Linked DNA regions of Homo sapiens: regions 2 and 3 are each linked to region 1. Evidence: promoter capture Hi-C in 16 types of primary human blood cells and fetal thymus (Javierre and others, 2016). All regions are on one chromosome and are shown on one strand. The core of a region is centred on a gene start or on the middle of the fragment in contact, and the rest is flanking DNA. Distances in the headings are between cores, read along the strand shown.

Region 1 (3,517 bases), core at 489-2,988:
GTTCTGTCTTGCTTAAGCCCCCATTATTTTATGATTTTTCTGTTACTTGCAGCTGAACATATTCATTTCTAACTCATGGACATCCTGAACATGGAGACCTGGGGAGAGGGGCTGCTGGAAGGATCACCTCCCTCCTAGGATGCTGTGAGGTTCTAATGAGATAACAGCATGCTCAGAACCTGGCACTCAGTAGGTGTTCAGTAAATCTTCCCAGGATGGAGAAGGAATGTATGAATGGATGTGTTCAGCGGACAAAAGCTGCAGTTGAGTTCCCACAGAAGGTGAGACCCCAAAGGGAGAGCGAAAGGAGTTTACTAGATGGAAGCAGCAGAAGGAACAGCACTCTTGGGAGAGGGAACAGTAGAAGCAGAGATGGGGGGACAGAAAGAAGGGAGGTGAGGCCCCTGTGGGGTGTGGAGTGTCAGGTTGGGCAAGAAGGACAGGGCTTTGATTGTGATTCCATTAGTCAGAAGCTACCCATATGCCCAATCAACTTCTGGTAGCACACAGTCAGGTCAGTGTTTGCTGAGCTGAAATTTAAAAAAGTGAATCCTTCAGAAAGTTAAATTTCCTATTCGGCCATTCATTCAACAATAGTATCAAGTCCTGGAGAGTGCTTGCGGCTAACAATCAGGGGCATTCTTGGCTTGTGGCACTGCTCAAGAAAAGGTTGTAGTTGGGCAGGGAGGACCCAGTAAGTAACTAACTGCAACAGGACAGTCATTTTCACTTTCCTAGTTCACACACCAAGGTGTGGTCTAGGCCTTCAGGGGCTCTGGGTATTCCTGGGGCAATGGGGAGTCACGGAGGGTTAGGGAGAGGGTAACCCCATCCCTGAGAAGCACATTTTTCCTAATGGCTGCCTGCGTTCTATGGTTCTGCTGTCCGGCCACCCAATACCTCAGACTCTGTCTACACAGCGTCCTCCTCTCCAGCCTCCTTATTGGCTACTCATGCCTCCCTTCACACCACCTACACTGCCCCCGTCGGCTCTGCTTTTTTCCCCATCTTGCCTCCAAGTCCTCCCTCCGTCCCGCTGCACTATCTAGCCTCGGCATTGGCTCATCCCATACTAGTACTGTCCTTTGAGGTCTCTACGCCTTCACCCTGGCTCCCTCATTGGCTATCCGCCAGCTCTCGTCCTCGCTCCCGCCTTCAGCCTCCACCTCCATTGGCTCGGCTCCCTACACACCCGCCTCTTGGTCTCCTTTTAGCCTTCGTATTGGCTAGCTCCACCTTGGCACCACCCCTTCGAAGCCGCAGTGCACGCTCACAAGCCTCCCCATTGGCTCGCTGCAGCCATTGTCGTCATCCCACGCGTGGCTCTCCATTGGCTGTTCTCTCTCTCTAGCTACCGTTCCACCGCCTACGCAACCCGCGGGATCTCCCACTTTTTGGGCCTCTGCGTTCGTTCCCGGCTGCCCTCATCGCCTGTAGCCATTCCACTTTTCCCACCGCCCACATGCCTCTCTCGCTCAGACTTCCGCATTAGCTGTCTGCTTCTGTTTTCTTCATCATGGATTTCGCACCACCCCCATTCCGGCCTCTCCATTGATTCCTCGATCATCCCGCCCCCTACACCGCCCACTCCCGGGCATCCCCATTGGCTGCGTGCTTCTCCGGCTCTCAATTCGCTGTACGTCATCCGTGCATGGCTGCCCATTGGCCCTCTGCAATACTTGTCTTCATCTCACCGCCTATGCCCCCGTGAGCCGTACCCCTCCGCGCTGGCCTTCCCATTGGCTGCCCGCCCCTTCAGGCCCTGCCCCCGCCGGTCCCGCCGCCGGTGCCGTCGGTGCCGCCGCCGCCGCCGATATGGCGCGTACGGCCCCTGTGGAGCCCCCGCTGCGGCATTCCGCGCCCCCCTCGCCGGCCGCGGGTGAGCCCCGCACCTCGGTCGAGGCGGCGGTGGCCCCGCGGAGGGTGCTGTTCGCCGACGAGGCCTTGGGGCTGCCGCTGGCGCAGTTGCGCCGCTACCGGCCGTGGGGCGGGCCCGGGGCGGGCAAGATGGCGGCGGCGGCCGGGCAAGATGGCGGCGGCGGCGGCGGGGCCGACGAGGACGACGATGGCGAGGATGGGGATGAAGGGGAGGAGGAAGAGGAGGCTTGCCCCGAGCCCTCACCGCTGTGCCCCGTCCCCGCTGGCGGGGGGTTTTACCTGGTCCCCACATTTTCGCTGCCGCCCGCGCCGGGCCGTCTGGAGCGCTTGGGGCGCGTCATGGTGGAGCTGGAGGCGCTGCTGCCGCCTCCCGGAGCGGTCCCCGGGGGTGCCGGGGTGTGGGTGCCTGGGGGCCGCCCGCCGGTGCTGCGCGGGTTGGTACGCGTGCTGAACCGCTCCTTCGAGAAGGCGGTGCACGTGCGGGCCTCACACGACGGCTGGGCTTCCTTTTGCGACCACCCAGCGCGCTACGTCCCGCGCAGCCCGCCGTGGGCAGGAGCGGGAGGAACAGGAGCAGGAGATCCCATCCTGGATCCGGGGCTCGGCCTGGGTCCCGGCCAGGCATCCGCCTCCTCGCCCGACGACGGCGGCCGCACCGACCGCTTTGCCTTCCAGCTGCCCTTTGCTGAGGGCGCGGGCGATGGGGCGCGCCTCGACTTCGTGGTGCGCTATGAGACCCCTGAGGGCACTTTCTGGGCCAACAACCACGGCCGCAACTACACAGTCCTGCTCCGGATCGCACCCGCTCCCACACCCACTGATGCCGAAGGGCTGCCCCAGCAGCAGCAGCTGCCGCAGCTGGAGCCACAGCCCGAGTGCCAGGGTCCCGTGGAGGCTGAGGCCAGGCAGCTGAAGAGCTGCATGAAGCCGGTGAGGCGCAGGTAATGTCAGCCAGCGCCACCTCCGCCAACGCAGGGCTGTGTCTGGGATGGAGGACAAGCATTCCGGCCCAGGAACCCCTCAGGCCTGCTCTCCAGGACAGGGAGGAGGGTGCATTGAGTCAGTCAGTCAAAGAGTGATGGAGGTCAAACACGTGCTAGGCACTGTTTTAACTGGGGTTTTATTCCTCCATTTATTGAGTTCCACTGTAAAGCCCTGAACAAGACAGACATCTACCCTACCCTCAAGGATTCATACAGGCTCCTATGGGAGACAGTTTGAAAAAACAAGCAAGCAAGCAGATAGGATAAATAGGGACAAAGTTAGCTGCTGAAGGGAGTAAGGGGATAGATTGGGAGGGAATGACTGTGTCAGACATGCTGTTAAAGGGAGGGCCTTTGAGGAGGTGAGTCCCGAATGATGATAAAGAAGAGTTATGCAGATACGGTGGGGAGGTGGGGGAGAGTTTGTAGGAAAAGGAACAGGGAGGACTTTTCTGAGGAGGTTTCATTTAAACTAAGTCCTGGATGATGAATAACAGTTATGTGCATATATGGAACAAGGGTGTTCTAGGTAGAGGAAACAGCAAGTGCAAAGGTCCTGGGGTGGAAATGAGCTTGGTGTGAATGATCAGCAGTGTGCTGGAGTGGAGAGAACTGCAATGACATAGTGTGGACCAAGGGCTTTGCCAGTGGGGGGT
Region 2 (3,517 bases), core at 433-2,932, 490 kb after region 1:
AATACAAAAAAAATTAGCTGGGTGTGGTGGCGGGCGCCTGTAATCCCAGCTACTCGGGAGGCTGAAGCAGGAGTTTGAGACCAGTCTATGCAAAATGGCGAAACCCTGTCTCTACTAAAAATAAAAATTAGCCGGGCATGGTGGTGCATGCCTATAGTCCTAGCTACTTGGGAGGCTGAAGCAGGAGAATCGCTTGAACCCAGGAGGTGGAGGTTGCAGTGAGCCAAGATTGCACCATTGCACTCCAGCCTGGGCAACAAGAGTGAAACTCTGTCTCAAAAAAAAAAATTTTTTTTGCACAGTCTTCTCCATGAGATTTATACTCCTAGAGAGCAGAGATAACAACAAGCCTATAAGGCAAGGTAGTATTGTTTTATTTAGTGCCTGCCTATTACCAAAAGAGTTTGAAGCAGTTTATACTAAAAACATAAGAAGAATAATCTTAGAAACCCAGGAAGAAAATTTGGGCAGAGAAGTCTCTGGGAAGCATCCCAAAACTAATGGCTACTGAAAATAAACCTCTCTAAACCCTTCTCTGTCTTTCTCTCTCCTTTCTTTTTCTTTCTCCTTCCCTTCTTGATTTGTATTGTGTTTTCTCAATTAATTATTTTCTCTTTCCTATCCCTTCTTTTTTTCCTATTTGGTTTCAGACGAATTGAGCCAGGTTTCTGAAACCTGAAGCCAAAAGCACCTGTATTAGTCTGTTCCCACACTGCTATAAAGAACTACCTGAGACTGGGTAATTTATGAAGAAAAGAGGTTTAATGAACTCACAGTTCCACAGGCTGGACAGGAAGCATGGCTGGGAAGGCCTCAGGAAGCTTACAATCATGGCAGAAGTTGAAGGAGAAGCAAGCACCTTCTTCACATGGCAGAGCAGGAGGAACAGAGAGCGAAGGGGGAAGCACTACACGCTTTTAAACCATCAGATCTCATGAGAACTCACTATCAAGAGAACAGCAAGGGGGAAATCCGCCCCCATGATCTAATCACCTCCCACCAGGTCCCTCCCCAATACTGGGAATTACAATTCAACTTGAGATTTGGGTGGGGACACAGAGCCAAATCATATCAGCATTCTAATGGATACATCAATCGATTTTCATGGCATGACATTAGGTATGAACTATTATCACCCCCATTTTACAGATGAAGAAACTGAGGCACAGAGGGGTTGAAGATGAAGACTTGCCTAAAATCAAATGGTAAATGGTGGAGTGAGGATTTTGATGAAGATAGTCTGAAGCCAGTAGCTACATCATTAATTATTATAATATATACTGCCAAGTATGAAATCAGATTTTAAACCAGGTCTGTTTAACTCAAACCCCATTGATCTTGACTATTAAACTATGCTCCCTGTGATGAAAATGATGATGACCATGACAATGACAATAACAGTAATAATTATAACTGACATTTATTGAGCTTTTATAGTGTGTCAGCATTAGTCTAAATATTTTTTAAAAATCAACTCATTTTCACAAAAACCCTATGAGTCAGGTACTACTATTATCCACATTTTAGAAATATTTATTTCTATTCATATTCACAAACAAGTATAGGTCATTTAAAAATTCTAGTTAAGACGTAATTCACATACCATAAAACTTACCTTGTTAATCATTTTAATTATTATTTGATTAAGAAATAATACACATCGCCATAAAATTTACAACTGTATACTTTGTACAATTCAGTGATTTTTGTATGTCCACTATGTTGCACAGCCATCACCACTGTCTAATTTTAGAACATTTTCATCACCCCTAAAAGAAACTCTGTATCCATTAGCAGTCACCCTCCACTCAGCCCTTGGCAACCACTAATCTACTTTCTGTCTCTATGGATTTATCTGTTCTGGACATTTCATATAAATGAAATCATACAATATGTGACCTTTTGTGTCCAGCTTTTTTCACACAGAACAGAGAAAAACAGCTACCATTTATTGGTTGCCATGACTACTATGTCCTACGCACTGTTATTGAGAGCTTTGTGTGCCTTATCTTTAATCCTCACAATAACCCTGTGGCAGAGTAGCACTATCATCTTCATGTTAATGAGGAGACCGAGGCACAGAGCTGTTCAGTAACTTGCATAAAGCGCAGCAGCGCATACATGGAAGAGTTAAAACGCAAATCCAGGTCTGTCTGTATCCAAATCCCATACCCTTTACATTCCATCTTTCTGCCTTAGCGTCACATGGATGTGGGCCAGTAATGTGGTGGCATTGCAGCCAGGGCAAAGGAGTTGAGCCAACCACGTGGTGCTGAGAAGCATAGCCCTAAGATCTCCTGGACCTGGTGTCTTTTAGTGGGGTGGGGGCTGGGGATGCCCTATCTCAAGCCTGTGCTCCTGACCCCAGTAAATTTGCCTGCTGAGGTCCTGCTTGCTTACTTCTTCCTGCAGCTTCTTGGCGGCCCCAGCTGCAGTCTTTGGTTTTACTCAATTTGGATGTGTAGGTTACAGAGTTTGTATGGTAGAGTGTCTGTATTTCTTCATCTGGCTTTGGTTACACGTGGAAACATGACAAAGCAAGTCAAGCTTTCTATGAAGAGAAGGACAAAAATTCACTGAACTTATTCAAGTATTCCCCTGAAGTCTGCAGCTCAGGCACATTTCCATCTGGAGCCCATTGAATAGCACCAGCTCCCCTTCTCTGGATGGGCATCTGAGGATGAACTTCTGGTCTTAAGTGATCCTCCACCTCAGCCTCCCAAAGTGCTGGGATTGCAGGTGTGAGACATTGCACTTGGCCCAAAAGCAGATGTTTATACTAATAGGTATGGACAATGAAGAATTAAGTGGTGATTTCCATGCTCTTTATAAGATGGCAGAGAAATGAATACTACTTTTCTAAAAATAGTGCCTGCCAAAAGAGTTTGTTTCAATAATTTGGAAAATGCAGGTCCAAATGGCTCATTCTTTCAGATTGCTGAACTGATTTGCTGTTATTGCGGCTAGAGGCCTCTAAGAGTCACTGTTGAGCTCTCAGAGGAATGTAGAAGCTGACAGGAAAGAGAGGGTCTAGAAGGAAACCTTATCTTATATAACCAGAAAATATTTATCAAATGTGACGCATTAATCTTGATACAATATTATTAACCAAACTATAAAAGTTATTCAGATTTCATCAGTTTTTCCAGGATCCATTCAGGATTCCCCATGGTATTTATCATCTTAGTCACATCATGTCTCCAGTCTGTGACAGCTCCTCGGTCTTTTCTTGTTTTCCATGACCTTGACATTTTAGTGGTCAGGTGTTTTGTAGGCAGTCCCTCAATTTGAGTTTGTATAGTGGTCTGTCATGATTAGAATGAAATAGAAATTTCTCATAAGACTGAAATAGGTTTAAGTTAGTGGAGCCCTCTTGGGGCTAAATTTAAGAAAGGGAGAAGTTAATTTTCTTTGCCCTGCTGCACCTCCTGCATCTTGCCCTCCATTCCCATCTCCAGTTCACTTCTCTCTGCCCTCAGTGGCCAAGTCTTAATAAACACTTATGCTTGCTCTGTGT
Region 3 (3,517 bases), core at 534-3,033, 370 kb before region 1:
AAATACATACATAAATAATTAGCCGGGCATGGTGGCGCAGTCCTGTGGTCCCAGCTACTTGGGAGGCTGAGGTGGGAGGATCACTTGAGCCTGGGAGGCGGAGGCTGTAGTGACCCATGATCAGGCCACTGCACGCCAGCCTGGGCAACAGGGCAAGATGCTGTCTCAAAAAAAAAAAAAAAAAAAAAAACATGGCCAGGCACAGTGGCACACGCCTGTAATCCCAGCACTTTGGGAGGCCGAGGTAGGTGGATCACCTGAGGTCCAGAGTTCAAGGCCAGCCTGGCCAACATAGTGAAACCCCATTTCTACTAAAATTACAAAAATTCGTCAGGTCTGGTGGCACATGCCTGTAGTCCCAGCTACTTGGGAGGCTGAGACAGGAGAATTGCCTGAACCCAGGAGGCAGAGGTTGCAGTGAGCCAAGAGCGTGCCACTGCACTCTAGCCTGGGCAACAGAGCAAGACTGTCTCAAAAAAAAAAAAAACTGTCTGGCTTTGCACATACATTTAAAATTTGGTGATGACTCTTTGAACGACACAGCATTTCCACAGAGGAGCTCCAGTTGGGTGGGGTGGAGGGTGGAAGACAGAGGCCATGTTTGCAATCCCTACAAAATCCCAGATACAGGAGCCAGGCTCGGCACATAGTAGGTGAGTGGGCACCAGAATGAATAAGTGCACGTGACTGGCAGCTCCAAGCAGTTTTCAGAGCAGCCTCCCTTGTGGGCAAGATAGCTAACCCCACACCAACCCAGGGAAGGCCTGGACTCACAACAGGGGCATTGCGGAAACCCTTGATGGCCTGGAAGACTCCGCCACCGATGACACCCATAGTGAAGGCTCCACCGCAATCATCCACAATTCGCCATGGGCTGCAAGCAGGAAGGGAAGGACGGGGTTAATGTGAGCCCTCCCCCAGGTCCTGTCACACGAACTCTTTTCTAACTGGGAGAAACCAAGTCACCAGAATGGGAAGTTCCTAAGTAGGAACAAACACTTCAGATAATAATGAGCTAGTTCTGTCACGCTTTTTCCACACACCCCCCCATTAAAGCGAGAAATGGGGCAAAGGGGGAGAAATATTAGTCTTCGCCCTGTCTACCAACCAAGGAATCAGCCAACGGTTTTACTGTGATCAAAGATTAAATGAATTGGCACACGCAGAGTTGACGTTTCAATAAGCGACATAGGCGTGTTAACTAGCCAAGACAGACTGTCAGCAAAGCAGGACCGCGTCGCACCCCTTCTCCGACGGTGAGCCCGTCCAACCATGCCCCGCCCCTTTTCAATCCGGCACAACTGGGAAAAACCAAGAGCGACCGCGGGAAGCATCCACCGTCCCCGCCGGCCCTCAACAGGTTCATCCGTGCCCCGCCCCCCACTGACAAAGGCGACCTGGGAAAAACCACTGGCGGCAACTCTGGGGATTTCCGGTCAACACCGTACCACCCCTAGCCGGGATGGATCGTCCAGCGTGTCTTTTTTCGTTAACAGGGCTAGGAGATTACGAAGTCAGGAGAAACATGGCGTGGTTCGGCCTTCGCCGCACCTTCTCTGGTTGTGGCCCCTCATAACGGAGCCCGAATGACAGGAACCGAGTGGGGGTAGCGGGAGATACGTTAAGAGTCCCCCGAGTCTGGTACATGGCTCTGTGCGGCCGATGCCTCCCCCGCCCGACCCCCACGGCTGGCCTTGGCGTCGCAGCAATATTCCGGATGCCTGTGCCCATTGCCGTACCAGGGCTCCCGAGCGTACTCCTCCATGGCGCTGGCGTCTGGCCGCGCAGTCAGGCCACGCCCCCAGCGTAGACGCACACCGGCGTCGGAGCTTTCCGCCTATTACCGGGCAGCGATTGGGTCGCTATACCGCATGTCACGCCAAGGACGCACTCTCATTGGCCAATCGAGTTTCTGCCATTTGTTCATTGCCTCCTGAGCGTAGTCCAGTTACTTTCAGGCTCGGGGAGTGAAGGCCTCGTTGAGAGAAGGTCTCATTCGGTGTTTTGGGAAGAGAGTCGTGTGGGCCCAGGTATCGTAGCGGCGACACGAGAGAGACGGGCGGTGTGACAGCCTTCCACTACCTGCACGAGTGTATTGGTAACGTTGGGGTGGGTGCACTCTTTTGGAGCTGGAGGAAGTGCTGCCCTCTGCTCCCCCATCCCAGCGCTTTGGTTTCTCCCACCCGGCAGTCATGGGGACGCTGGATGAGCCCATTTCTGAAGTGCGGAGGGGCCGGGCTTCTTAGGCTGTGGGCGGAGCCTGGGCCTGGGAGAGGAACAGGGCCCTGGAGCACCTGGTTTCGGGGACAGTAGGGTTGGTGGGAGTTGCGATGATATTGCCACCTACCTCTTACATCTTTTAGTGCGTATGTTCTGTCCACCCAGCTACTGGTTCATTTGAGTAGATCGGAGTCAGATGAGTACATGTTTACGGGAGGCGCTTGGTTACGGGATCCAGATAGGAATCTTTATCTGAGCTGCTTGTCAGTTTGTTCGTCTGTCCCTAGGTCTGTCTGCTATCAGCTATGCCGCTGCCCGTTGCGCTGCAGACCCGCTTGGCCAAGAGAGGCATCCTCAAACATCTGGAGCCTGGTGAGACAGCTAAAAGCAGATGGTCCTAACACGTGCCAGCCTCGACAGGCACTTTTGTTGTTGATACTGACGCTTGATACCTAGCATGGGCCAACTGTGCACCAAGCAATGGGGTGGCAGGCATTTTTCGTTGTTAACAATGTGGATTCCTGACATCCATCCCTACCGCGTGTCAAGTGGAGGGGGTTGGGGGAATAGATATTTCATTCTTTTTTTTTTTTTTTTTTTTTTTTTTTTTTTTTTTTTTTGAGGCAGAGTCTTATTGTGCACCCAGGCTGGAGTGCAGTGGCGCGATCTCGGCTCACTAAAACCTCCGCCTTCCAGGTTCAAGCGATTCTCCTGCCTTAACTTCCCGAGTAGTTGGGACTACAGGCACGCCCCGCCCCACCACACCTGGCAATTTTTTTTTTTTTTTTTTTGAGACAGAGTCTCGGTCTGTCGCCCAGGCTGGAGTGCTGTGGCGTGATCTCGTCTCACTGCAACCTCCGCCTCCCGGGCTCAAGCGATTTTCCTGTCTCAGCCTCCCAAGTAGCTGGGATTACAGGCACGTGATACCACACCCGGCTGATTTTTGCATTTTTAGTAGAGACGGGTTTCACCATGTTGGCTAGGCTGGCCTCTAACTCCTGACCTCAGGTGATCCACCCCCCACCCTTGGCTTTCCAAAGGGTTGGGATTACAGGCATAAGCCACTGTGCCCGGCAGATATTTCATTCTTAACAATACTGACTGGCTGGGCGTGGCGGCTCAAGCTGGCATTCCCAGCACTTTAGGAGGCTGAGGCGGGTAGATTGCTTGAGTTTAGGGATTAAGAGATTAGCCTGAGCAACATGGCAAAACCCCGTCTTTACAAAAAATACAAAAATTAATCGTGTGTTGTGGTGCATGCCTGTAGTCCCAGCTACTTGGGAGGCTGAGGTGAGAG

Evidence for each region. Contacts are between HindIII fragments. The CHiCAGO score rates a contact against its expected background, and 5 or more counts as called.
Region 2: a fragment that was not itself captured here is called in contact with the fragment with the promoter of PPP1R3F in region 1 in 2 of 17 cell types (non-activated CD4 T cells and total CD4 T cells); the score reaches 5.7 in non-activated CD4 T cells.
Region 3: a contact is called between the fragment with the promoter of TIMM17B here and the fragment with the promoter of PPP1R3F in region 1, in 1 of 17 cell types (neutrophils). The highest score is 7.0, in neutrophils.

What each region holds. Positions count from the first base shown.
Region 1 is chrX:49,268,055-49,271,571 of GRCh38, forward strand. PPP1R3F (protein phosphatase 1 regulatory subunit 3F) reads left to right here and starts at 1,739. Exons shown (of 4, transcript NM_033215.5): 1 at 1,739-2,819. The coding sequence starts at 1,816. RefSeq lists enhancers at 828-1,327, 1,025-1,074 and a silencer at 1,775-2,014. The HindIII fragment of the contact is 7,823 bases long and covers 1-3,517 here.
Region 2 is chrX:49,758,700-49,762,216 of GRCh38, forward strand. No RefSeq gene overlaps it. Among named protein-coding and RNA genes, the nearest start is that of PAGE1, 64 kb to the left of the region's middle. The HindIII fragment of the contact is 1,726 bases long and covers 820-2,545 here.
Region 3 is chrX:48,895,985-48,899,501 of GRCh38, forward strand. TIMM17B (translocase of inner mitochondrial membrane 17B) reads right to left here and starts at 1,784. Exons shown (of 6, transcript NM_001395498.1): 1 at 1,740-1,784; 2 at 775-874. The coding sequence starts at 1,765. PQBP1 (polyglutamine binding protein 1) reads left to right here and starts at 1,946. Exons shown (of 7, transcript NM_001032382.2): 1 at 1,946-2,098; 2 at 2,508-2,592. The coding sequence starts at 2,526. RefSeq lists enhancers at 1,300-1,449, 1,480-1,679, 1,970-2,339, 2,390-2,609. The HindIII fragment of the contact is 9,862 bases long and covers 1-3,517 here.